3 separate regions of the Homo sapiens genome follow, and regions 1 and 2 are each linked to region 3. The links are contacts of gene promoters, found by promoter capture Hi-C in human tissues and cell types (Jung and others, 2019). All regions are on one chromosome and are shown on one strand. The core of a region is centred on a gene start or on the middle of the fragment in contact, and the rest is flanking DNA. Distances in the headings are between cores, read along the strand shown.

The links. The method cuts DNA at HindIII sites, captures the fragments that hold promoters and counts their contacts. A contact is called where the count stands out against the background at its distance.
Region 1: a fragment that was not itself captured here is called in contact with the fragment with the promoter of EVI2A in region 3 in 1 of the 25 tissues and cell types used here (aorta).
Region 2: a contact is called between a fragment that was not itself captured here and the fragment with the promoter of EVI2A in region 3, in 1 of the 25 tissues and cell types used here (lymphoblastoid cells).

What each region holds. Positions count from the first base shown.
Region 1 is chr17:30,786,280-30,789,741 of GRCh38, reverse strand. All of the region lies in intron 6 of CRLF3 (cytokine receptor like factor 3), which reads left to right. It also overlaps the pseudogene SUZ12P1. Among named protein-coding and RNA genes, the nearest start is that of CRLF3, 37 kb to the left of the region's middle. The HindIII fragment of the contact is 4,601 bases long and covers 1-3,462 here.
Region 2 is chr17:30,741,438-30,744,653 of GRCh38, reverse strand. It overlaps the pseudogene SUZ12P1. Among named protein-coding and RNA genes, the nearest start is that of CRLF3, 82 kb to the left of the region's middle. The HindIII fragment of the contact is 6,485 bases long and covers 1-3,216 here.
Region 3 is chr17:31,319,731-31,322,991 of GRCh38, reverse strand. EVI2A (ecotropic viral integration site 2A) reads left to right here and starts at 1,370. Exons shown (of 2, transcript NM_014210.4): 1 at 1,370-1,497. The region is part of intron 36 of NF1 (neurofibromin 1); the gene reads right to left. The HindIII fragment of the contact is 10,482 bases long and covers 1-3,261 here.

The sequences.
Region 1 (3,462 bases), core at 330-2,829, 530 kb after region 3:
TGTACTGTCTTAAGTATTTTACTTGTATTAACTCATTTGATTTTCATGGTAACCCAGTGAGATAGATGGGTTATTTATTTTAGGGATGAGGAAACTGAGGCATAGAGAAGTTATTTACCCAGTGTCACACAGCTAGTAAATGCCAAAACTAGGGTTTAAATCCAGGCAGTTCGACTCCAGACTGGTCTGTATTGCTTCTTTTTCATGGGAGAGTTAACATGATTCTAGTTAGTGTTGAAGTCTACAGTTTCTCTATTACTGTGTCCTTAGCTCTTTAACTTTTACCTCTTATGACCTTTCACCACTTGATCTGATGCTCTCCTGCTTTTTAAATTCTTCCTCCTTGGACACATGGTAATGTCTGATAGATTGCATAGTTAGGTTTATTTCTTAGACCATTCAGTAAATATTTATTAAGACATTGGAAATTATACAAATTGATTTAAATTCACCTCTGCTGACCGTGATGTGAAAGACACATTAGGTCTCAATAAACTGTTGAGTCTCTCTTGCATCTCCTAAAGATGCATCACCAGGCCCCACTTGGCAGGGTGATTAACTGAAATTCAGTTAAACTCAATATAATGGTAGCCAGCCTTTTGCATTTTTGTCATTTTTTTCTTTGTGGAATGAAATGTTTTCTCCCCTTGTTTAAAGGAATTTCAGGCATCAGCAGTGAAGCCAGAGATGTGAATGCAAGGGGGACTCCATGCATAAGGGCATAAGGGAGGAGCAAGTGCGCCTACTTGAATCAAGAGAAACAATATTTAGTTTTTTGAGGGTACTTAAGGGCCTAGTAGTTAGAAGGGAGACTATACTCTTGAAGGCACTACGTTAGCCGGGCACGGTGGCTCACGCCTGTAATCCCAGCACTTTGGGAGGCTGAGGTGGGCAGATCACGAGGTCAGGAGTTCGAGACCAGCCTGGCCAATATGGTGAAACCCCATCTCTACTATAAATACAAAAATTAGCCGGGCGTGGTGGTGTGTGCCTGTAATCCCAGCTACTCAGGAGGCTGAGGCAGGAGAATCGCTTGAACCCAGGAGGCGGAGGTTGCAGTGAGCCGAGATCACGCCACTGTACTCTAGCCGGGGCAACAGAGTGAGATGCTGTCTCAAAAAAAAAAAAAAAAAAAAAAAAAAGAAGGCACTACTTTGTTATTTATCCCAGTCAGTCCCTGCTGAAGCTTCTGGAAGGCTTGGAGCTGCTGAAGCCAGAGAAACCTGTGATACTGGCTGGATTTTAACAGTCTCTAGACCCACTCTCATTAGATGCCCAGGTCTGCTAGCAACCCCCTCCTTCCAGGTCTCCCTCACTTCCTATGTGAACATTCCTGCTCTTTCCTTGCTTCTAAGATTTTCTGATTTTTTTTAAGGTTTCCTTCTTTCTTTTCTTTTCTTTTCTTTTTTTTTTTTTGAGACAAAGTCTCATTCTGTTGCCCAGGCTGGAATGCAATGGCACAATCGGCTCACTGCAACCTCCACCTCTCAGGTTCAAGCGACCCTCTCACCTCAGCCTCCTGAGTAGCTGGGACTACAGGCGCCTGCTACCACGCCCGGCTAATTTATTGTATTTTTAGTAGAGACGGGGTTTCACCGTGTTAGCCAGGATGGTCTCAATCTCCTGACTTTGTGATCCGCCCACCTCGGCCTCCCAAAGTGCTGGGATTACAGGCGTGAGCCACTGCACCCGGCCTATTTTCTTTCTCATTCCCCTCCCCAGCTCTCCCCCTCTTTTTGTTTAAGACAAGGTCTCGCTCTGTCGCCCAGGTTGAAGTGCAGTGGCATGATCTCAGCTCACTGCAATCGCCATCTCACAGGTTCAAGTGACCCTCTCACCTCAGCCTCCTGAGTAGCTAGGATTACAGGAGCCACTACCACACCCAGCTAATTTTTGTATTTTTTGTAGATACGGGGTTTCACCATGTTGCCTAGGGTGGTCTTGGAACTCCTGACCTCAGGTGATCCACCCTCCTTGGCCTCCCAAAGTGCTGGGATTACAGGTGTGAGCCACTATGCCCGGCCCCTCCTCCCCATACTTCTTTAGACTGCTCAGATATGAAATAACTTCAGAAACCTACCCAAATATTATGATCCTGCATGTTTGCTATTTCACAATCAATGACATTTTGAGGCCACATTGACTATAAATAATCACATCTGTCTTTGGAAAAGCCACATTTTGTTTCACACTAATTTTTTTTTTTGTCCTTGCAAAGTTGGCTTTCTGGATGGAGAGAATGATGTGTCTGGCAATAGGGATCTGTACATTTCCTATTTCAAGAGCACACAAAGTACTGACATCTGAAATGAAAACACAAAAGGAAAAGCTTAAACTTGCCACATAGGAAGTTCTTCATGCTTGAATAGTGTCTTCATAACCATAATGGGATTTTTTAGGATTATAATAGTTCTTTTTAAATGCTTTATTTACTTAACAAATAGTAATCAAATCATTGCAAATTCTTATATGGAAGATTTAGGCGCTGGCAGCAATAGTTACATAAATTATAATGTCAACTATGACAAACCTTCTATGTGTCTAGAGCTAGAATATAAAATAGAAGTGTGCCATCATGGCTACAAATGGTTAAGAATATAGATTCTAGGCCGGGCACGGTGGCTCACTCCGTAATCCCAGCACTTTGGGAGGCCAAGGAGGGTGGATCACCTGAGGTCAGGAGTTCCAAGACCAGCCTGAGCAACATGGTGAAACCGTGTCTCTACTACAAATACAAAATTAGGCCAGGTGTGGTGGCTCACGCCTCTAATCCCAGCACTTTGGGAAGCCGAGGCAGGCGGATCACCTGAGGTCAGGAGTTCGAGACCAGCCTGACCAACATGGTGAAACCCCGTCTCTACTAAAAATACAAAACTAGCCGGGCATGGTGGTGCATCCCTGTAATCCCAGCTACTCAGGAGGCTGAGGCAGGAGAATCGCTTGAACCAGGGAGGCAGAGGTTGCAGTGAGCTGAGATCGCGCCATTGCACTCCAGCCTGGGCAACAAGGATGAAACTCCATTTCAAAAAAATAGATAGATAGATTGATTGATTCTAGAGTCAGAATGCCTGTGTTTGAGTCCTGGTTCCACCAGTCATCAGCCAGGTAGTCGGGATCAGGTTATTTAGCTATTTTTAATCTTTTTTTCTTTTCGTGCCTCATTTTCCTCACTTATAAAATGGGTATGTTAAAAATAGCACCTACCGGCTGGACGCAGTGGCTCACGCCTGTAATCCCAGCACTTTGGGAGGCCGAGGTGGGTGGATCACAAGGTCAGGAGTTCAAGACCAGCTTGGCCAAGATGGTGAAACCCCATCTCTATTAAAAATAGAAAACTTAGCCGGGTATGGTGGCGGGCACCTGTAATCCTAGCTACTTGGGACGCTGAAGCAGAGAACTGCTTGAACCCGGGAGGCGGAGGTTGCAGTGAGCCAAGGTCGCACCACCGCACTTCAGCCTGGG
Region 2 (3,216 bases), core at 366-2,865, 580 kb after region 3:
AAAAAGGCCCTGAGGATCCCAAGAGCTCTGTCTAGGGTGGGAGACCAGACAAGAATCTGGAATACAAATTCTAGTAAAGAAAAATGTGTGTGCACTGCGAATATTCTCAGTTCTATCTTATAGGGTCCTCCCTGGGCATTAACAGATGTACCAGGTAACAATTCAGGATCTCAGCTTCTAGAATGGACTATCACAGTTTATTTACAAGTCAGGACTGCCTAGACATGGAAATATAAATTATACTTCAACCCCACAAGATTGCAGGATATAAAATAAAAAATATCATTTTACAATCCAAGTAAAAAAATCACTTAATTCCAAAGCCAAACTTAAAGTAGAAGGAAGCCAAACTGAAAAAAAGGAAGTCTTTTACCAGTTAACAGAACAATGGGAAAACAATGAGATGCATAAATGATGCATCATTAAGTGTGTATCCTATCTAAATTCGTAAGCTGTGATTTAAAACTAGAAGGAAAAGAAAAATGCACTGTGACAAATTTTCCAACTCTATTTTTTTAAGAATCTAATATTTTTAGTTCTGCATTCTCTCTAAAGGTAGTTAATGAATGAACAAACACCACCCAAGCTGCTGTTTCTCCTTAGAATATTCAATTTTCTATCAAAAATATCAAAAAATAAAGTTTACATATCAAAAAATAAATAGAAGCATACTATCTAGAGTAGACAGATATCAGACTAGTCAGAACATTTAGGGATTCGTTCTAGGTATATATTTGCTAATGTACAATAAGTAGATTCTGTCCAAATGTTCAAGTTTCTGAAACTATGTGAGAAACATATTTCAAATATGAAATAAAAGTTATGAATATGTTGCCTGACAGATTTAAATGAGAAGAAAAAGATGGAAAAAAAGAGAACCCCTCTCATATTTGAGAATAACTTACAAGATACGTGATATTGTGAAGTCCCTGCCACAGTACCTAGCACATATACTATAAATGTGAGTATCCCTCTTTAAATGAGGTGGTAGAGTTAAGACCAACGGCAGAAGTCAGAGGTTTCACTCAAAATGGAAGAAACTGGTAATAAAGATAAAGAATAATAAATACAACTACACTGGAGGTATTCAAGCCACAGCTTAAGTATTCTCTGCCAGGAATGCTACAGAAATTAATTTCTGACTTGTGTGTGAGTTTGGACCAAACTGACCTCTAAGATTCCTTCTAACTCCTTATATCAAGGTGATCACTAGGAAAATGATCACTGTAATTTTTCCTCTTTCCTAAAGTATATCACTTAATGTAAACTGATAGGTTATCTTACCTATGAGATTCTTGCTCTCCTTTCATTTTCTCTACTTTTGATAACATATCATCAACTTTAAATGTTTTCCTGGAAGAAACAGATAAACAAAATAATCACTTCTCAACTGGATAAAAGAAACAAATTATACTTTATTGTCACTCTAATAGGCAAGATGGAAATCAGATTTTGATTATTTTTAGTAAGATAAACTATGGATGATTAGCCATAACAATGAATACTATGGAGACGGTGTATAATACAGCACACAAGCCTTCAAGCCCCATCTAAAACGCTAACTTGTTTTCATTAAACCTTTTACCCAATTATTCCCAAACCAGTGATTTCTCCTTACCCATGGTACTTGGTTTATATTTATTTTGACACTTACTTTTCATTCAGTTTCCTACATGTAAAACTCATGTAAATATTTTATTTCTCCTACTAGATTATACACTCCTGAAGGGCAGTAATTGCTCTTCTTCAAGGAAAGCTATGCAGTGCTGGCATAGTGCCTTCTACTTGGTAGGTATTCAAGTATCTGTTGAATTAAGCCAAACAAATATAAATTATGTGTATTCTGAAACACTTAATACGTCTACTAAGCAACACAACAAATATGTACTAGCACCATCACATAAAAAAAGAAATATTCTATAAAATATATTTGAAGTTCATAAGGTATCCTCAAAGATTATCAGCAAAGCCTAAAGCTCAATGATATGTCATATTAAAGAGATGGTTGTTGACATCATGAAAAAATTTTGAAGTTAGGGAATGATCCATCAAATCGCAAAACTATTACCTTTTAACTCGACAAGTTTAAGAGAAAAAATCTATTTCCCAAAAAATTGAAAGTTAAGTATAACTTCTCAAAGCAATTAAAGAATGAATGGATTGTAAAACAAGCTTCATCTTAGTTCTTAAGGTGGTCTATGACATGTTCTAGAGATAGAGTCTAAAAATCTATACCCATATATAATTTAATTAGAAAAAATGTTTCTCTTTATACTCATATAGTCCCTTCCTCTTTAGGACTTGAAAAGCCAAATGTATTCCACATCAATTTGTTACTTTATAATGCTTGAATGCAGACACCAAAAATTACGAATAATCTCATTCGTCAAAAAGAGTTTTTTGTTTGTTTTTTTTGTTTGTTTTGTTTTGTTTTTGAGATGGGAGTGTCACTCTTGTTGCCCAGGCTGGAGTACAATGACGTGATCTCGGCTCACTGCAACCTCCACCTCCCGGGTTCAGACAATTCTCCTGCCTCAGCCTCCCGAGTAGCTGGGATTACAGGTGTGCACCACCATGCCCAGCTAATTTTTGCATTTTTAGTAGAGACAGGGTTTCACCATGTTGGTCAGGCTGGTCTTGAACTCCTGACCTCAGGTGATCTATCCACCCCTGTCTCCCAAAGTGCTAGGATTAAAGGTGTGAGCCACCATGCCTGGCCAAAAAAGAGCTATTTATTGTATTCAACTACTGTAAAAATTATCAGTAGAGAAATGTTAATGTAAATATATTATAGTAAACTACTGATATTAGAGCAGAATTGATGCAATCTATATTTCAAGTGAATGAGAAGAGCCTCCATAGCGAAGCTCTTAAGGGAAAAAAAGCTCTAACTTTAGAGTTACTGAAAACTTCAATATTAAAGTTTCATCCAAGAGTATAGTAAGAAGTGCTTTCTGAAGGATGGCTATATATTTTCAATCTCCACAGATAAGAGAGAAAAAAGAACAAAAATAAAGGACTCTTTTAGGCTAGTTGCAAAGAGCTATTCAGTATAAATACTGAAAGTTACTATTGGGGAGGGCCATGAAATTACTGAAAACTTTTCAGAATAACGTTTATGTAATGATTAAGAAATTCTGTCTGCAGAAAAAGATTGTATGTTCTAAGGTTCATCTCATCTACCTTTATGAAGCTGTATACAGGAGAAGTGAATGG
Region 3 (3,261 bases), core at 121-2,620:
ACCAAAGACAGTGATGTATACAAGATATAAGAAGGATTCAGGGCTACCGAAAAGGCACTGTAGAGTCTAGGTATGACCTGATAAGGATCTAAAATAGTACTGTTGACAGTAAAAACAGGGAAAAAGAAACTGATCCAACAATATGAAGGAAGGACCAACATGATTCAAAGTCTGATCAGGACTGAGAGGACTTAAATTAAAATGATGTGTTGTATACTAAGCCTCTGATATTAGAATGTTGCTATCATGAACAGAAACAAGAAGACTGTCACAGGCAGCCTCCTTTAAAGAAAAAATAAAGTTCTTTTTATTTCATTAATTTAATTAATTTTTAAGAGATGGAGTCTTGCTATGTTACCCAGGCTGGATTTGAACTCCTGGGCTCCACCAGTGATCCTCCTACCTCAACCTACCTAGTAGCTGGGATTACAGATATGTGCTGCCATATCCAGTTCTTTTTTTTTTTTTTTTTTTTTTTTTTTTTTTTTTTGAGACAGAGTCTTACTCTGTCTTCCTGGCTGGAGTGCAGTGGCATGATCTTAGCTCATGCAGCCAAGATCTCATGATCTCTGCAGCCTCCACGTCCCGGGTTCAAGCTATTCTCCTGTCTCAGCCTCCCAAGTAGGTGGGACTACAGGTGCATGCTACCCTGCCTGGTTAATTTTTATATTTTTAGTAGAGACAGGTTTTCTCTATGTTGGCCAGGCTGGTCTTGAACTCCTGGCCTCAAGTGATCTGCCTGCGTCAACCCTCCCAACGTGCTGGGATTACAGGTGTGAGCCACCGTGTTCAGCCCATACCTAGTTCTTAAAGTCTGTTTCAGTCATGTTAAACTTGAGGTGATGACAGGATGTTTGACAGTTGTGTGTGTGTGTGTGTGTGTGTGTGTGTGTGTGTATACACACACTACACCACACGAAAGCATTTTCTGTCCCATATAATCTAAGTTTACTAGATATTTTCTCAAATAATTGCTGCAGTTCCACAATTGTTACATTATCTGATCAGTATCCCATGGACTCCAAACTCACATTTTCAAATCAGTCTGTAGATTTCAAATAAGTCTTTTAGAGAAGATTTGAAATGGAAGATACCATTTCAAAACCTCTTTTGAATGACACTAAAGCATGTAGCAGGCCTATAGAATGAGCATACTGTCAAAAGGCATTAAGTGGAAAACCCTCCCTGCTCTGGAGGCGGGGATTGGTTCTACAAAGCCTCCTGTCATGCCAGTGGCCAACTAGAGAAGTTGGAGCTTTTTCGTTGTTTTTTTTTTTTTCCCTCCTGTGACATGTGCTTTAGTTGCAGTGGAAAGGAAATGTGTCATCTGTGGTTTGGTTTTAAAAGTGGAAAACTAGCTGCACATATCCTTTTTTACTGCAGATTTACTTTAAGGCTCATATTCTCCAAGTCTATTCTGCTTTAAAAAGAAGACAAGAAAAGAAGTGGTTTATCAAAATCACGTTATAATCAGATTTTGACCAAGCATTTTGTAAGGTAGGTCATATATATACGGCTTTTCTTATGCCTTTTCACTTCTAACGTCTGACAGATTAGTGTTCGAGGAAATGCTATCAAAGTGTGTAAGAATCTCACTAACAAACTAGAATTGTGACTGAAAATGTATACTTTTTTTTTCTGTCCTGTTACATAAATTTTAAGTTAGAAATGAAAAAATTTGCCATCGCCATGGAGTTTTAAATTAGGATTACGAAGGATCTAAGTTTGGTTTCCTCAAGTAAACTGGAAATGTTTTGTTATTTTTCAAAAGTTAAAAAATAAATTTCTCATTACTAATGCTTGGACATTACAAATTCTACTGAAAATAAATTCTACTGAAAATGATCAGATATAAGAAAACTTCTGATAACACAACCTGGCCTCCAAGGCATAAACTGGAGTAAAAACAGTCCTCAATTCTCAGGCATTTGTAAGGGCAAGAGAAAGTCTCATTTTGTCATACAGTTTGTTTATTTGGGCACTGCAGTACATCTGGCTGAAGACAATCAACAGCAGGCCTATTATCTGTTCCGTGGTAAGCACTGTTAAAATGTGTACCAATACTATGATGTATACTACACTGTTAATGAACTAATGTGAAAAGAATAATCTACTTTAAATCATTCTAGCATCTAATACAGAAGTCCAGTCTAGTATAAAAAGATGGAAATTACTTGCTAATCCAATTTCAAGTATTTCTTTTTGTGGAAGAATCATGAAATATCCAAAGATTTATGTCACTAAACTTAAAAATTAAAGCTGAACACTATTATACAAAAGCCAGTGACTTGGGCCTTTAATTGTCTACTAAAGGTCATAATCTAAAAAGTAATCTTAATCCTGGAATATTTAATAGTTTTTCCTCCCTACTATTAATATGAAATATAGTCTCCAGTTAGCATTGTTTATTACATGCTACTTTTGTTTGCATAACTCAACGTATCACATTTCTTATTTTCAATTTCTGTATTTTAATAGTATACAAATGTCAGCCAATGACATATAACAACCATTTCTTATAAAACCTTGATGTTCAAAAGCCTGACTAGCAGTGGCATCCATGTTGCTTAGGAGTTGGTTTGGAAACAAAGACTTTCAGGCCCTACCTATACTAGCTAGGTAAGAATCTGCCTTTTTTTTTTTTTTTTAAATAAAAGGACTCCTAAGTACATTTGAGAAGAATTTCTATAGCATACGTAGGGTTCTTAACCAGGCAATTTCATTTAGTAAATCTCAGGAGAACAATATAGTTTTGCTTTTAGTTCATTCAAATAAATGCTAACAATAAAATACTCCTTTCAAAAGTAGCTCAAGACAAACTGGTATATTATTATAAGATACCTTAATAATGATTATAAATCTTTCCTGCTGGGTTAGCAGTACATGGAACTGTTAAATTCTAAGATATGCCATTTCTATTTAAATCAATCATTTGGTAGATTTAAAAAATGTATAATATAACTTGTCTCCTTTTTGTACTAGTTTCCAGCAAGCTCAGGGCCAAAGCGGAAATTCAACATTTTCAATTATCTGTTGAGATGCTTATAACCTGCCACTTCATCCCAAATCATCAAGATCCTGATGCTCTATTTCTATTTTATTACACATTTTTTTTTACAATTATGTCAAAATCAGAAAAAATGCTAGGTATAAATGATGCTTTAAAAGAAAACCCAGCAACTTTTGTTGAACTTTTAAGTCTACTCAGAGGAAATTTGCTGTTTTTTTTTTTTTTTCTTCAGATTTTTAGGTTGAGAAAAC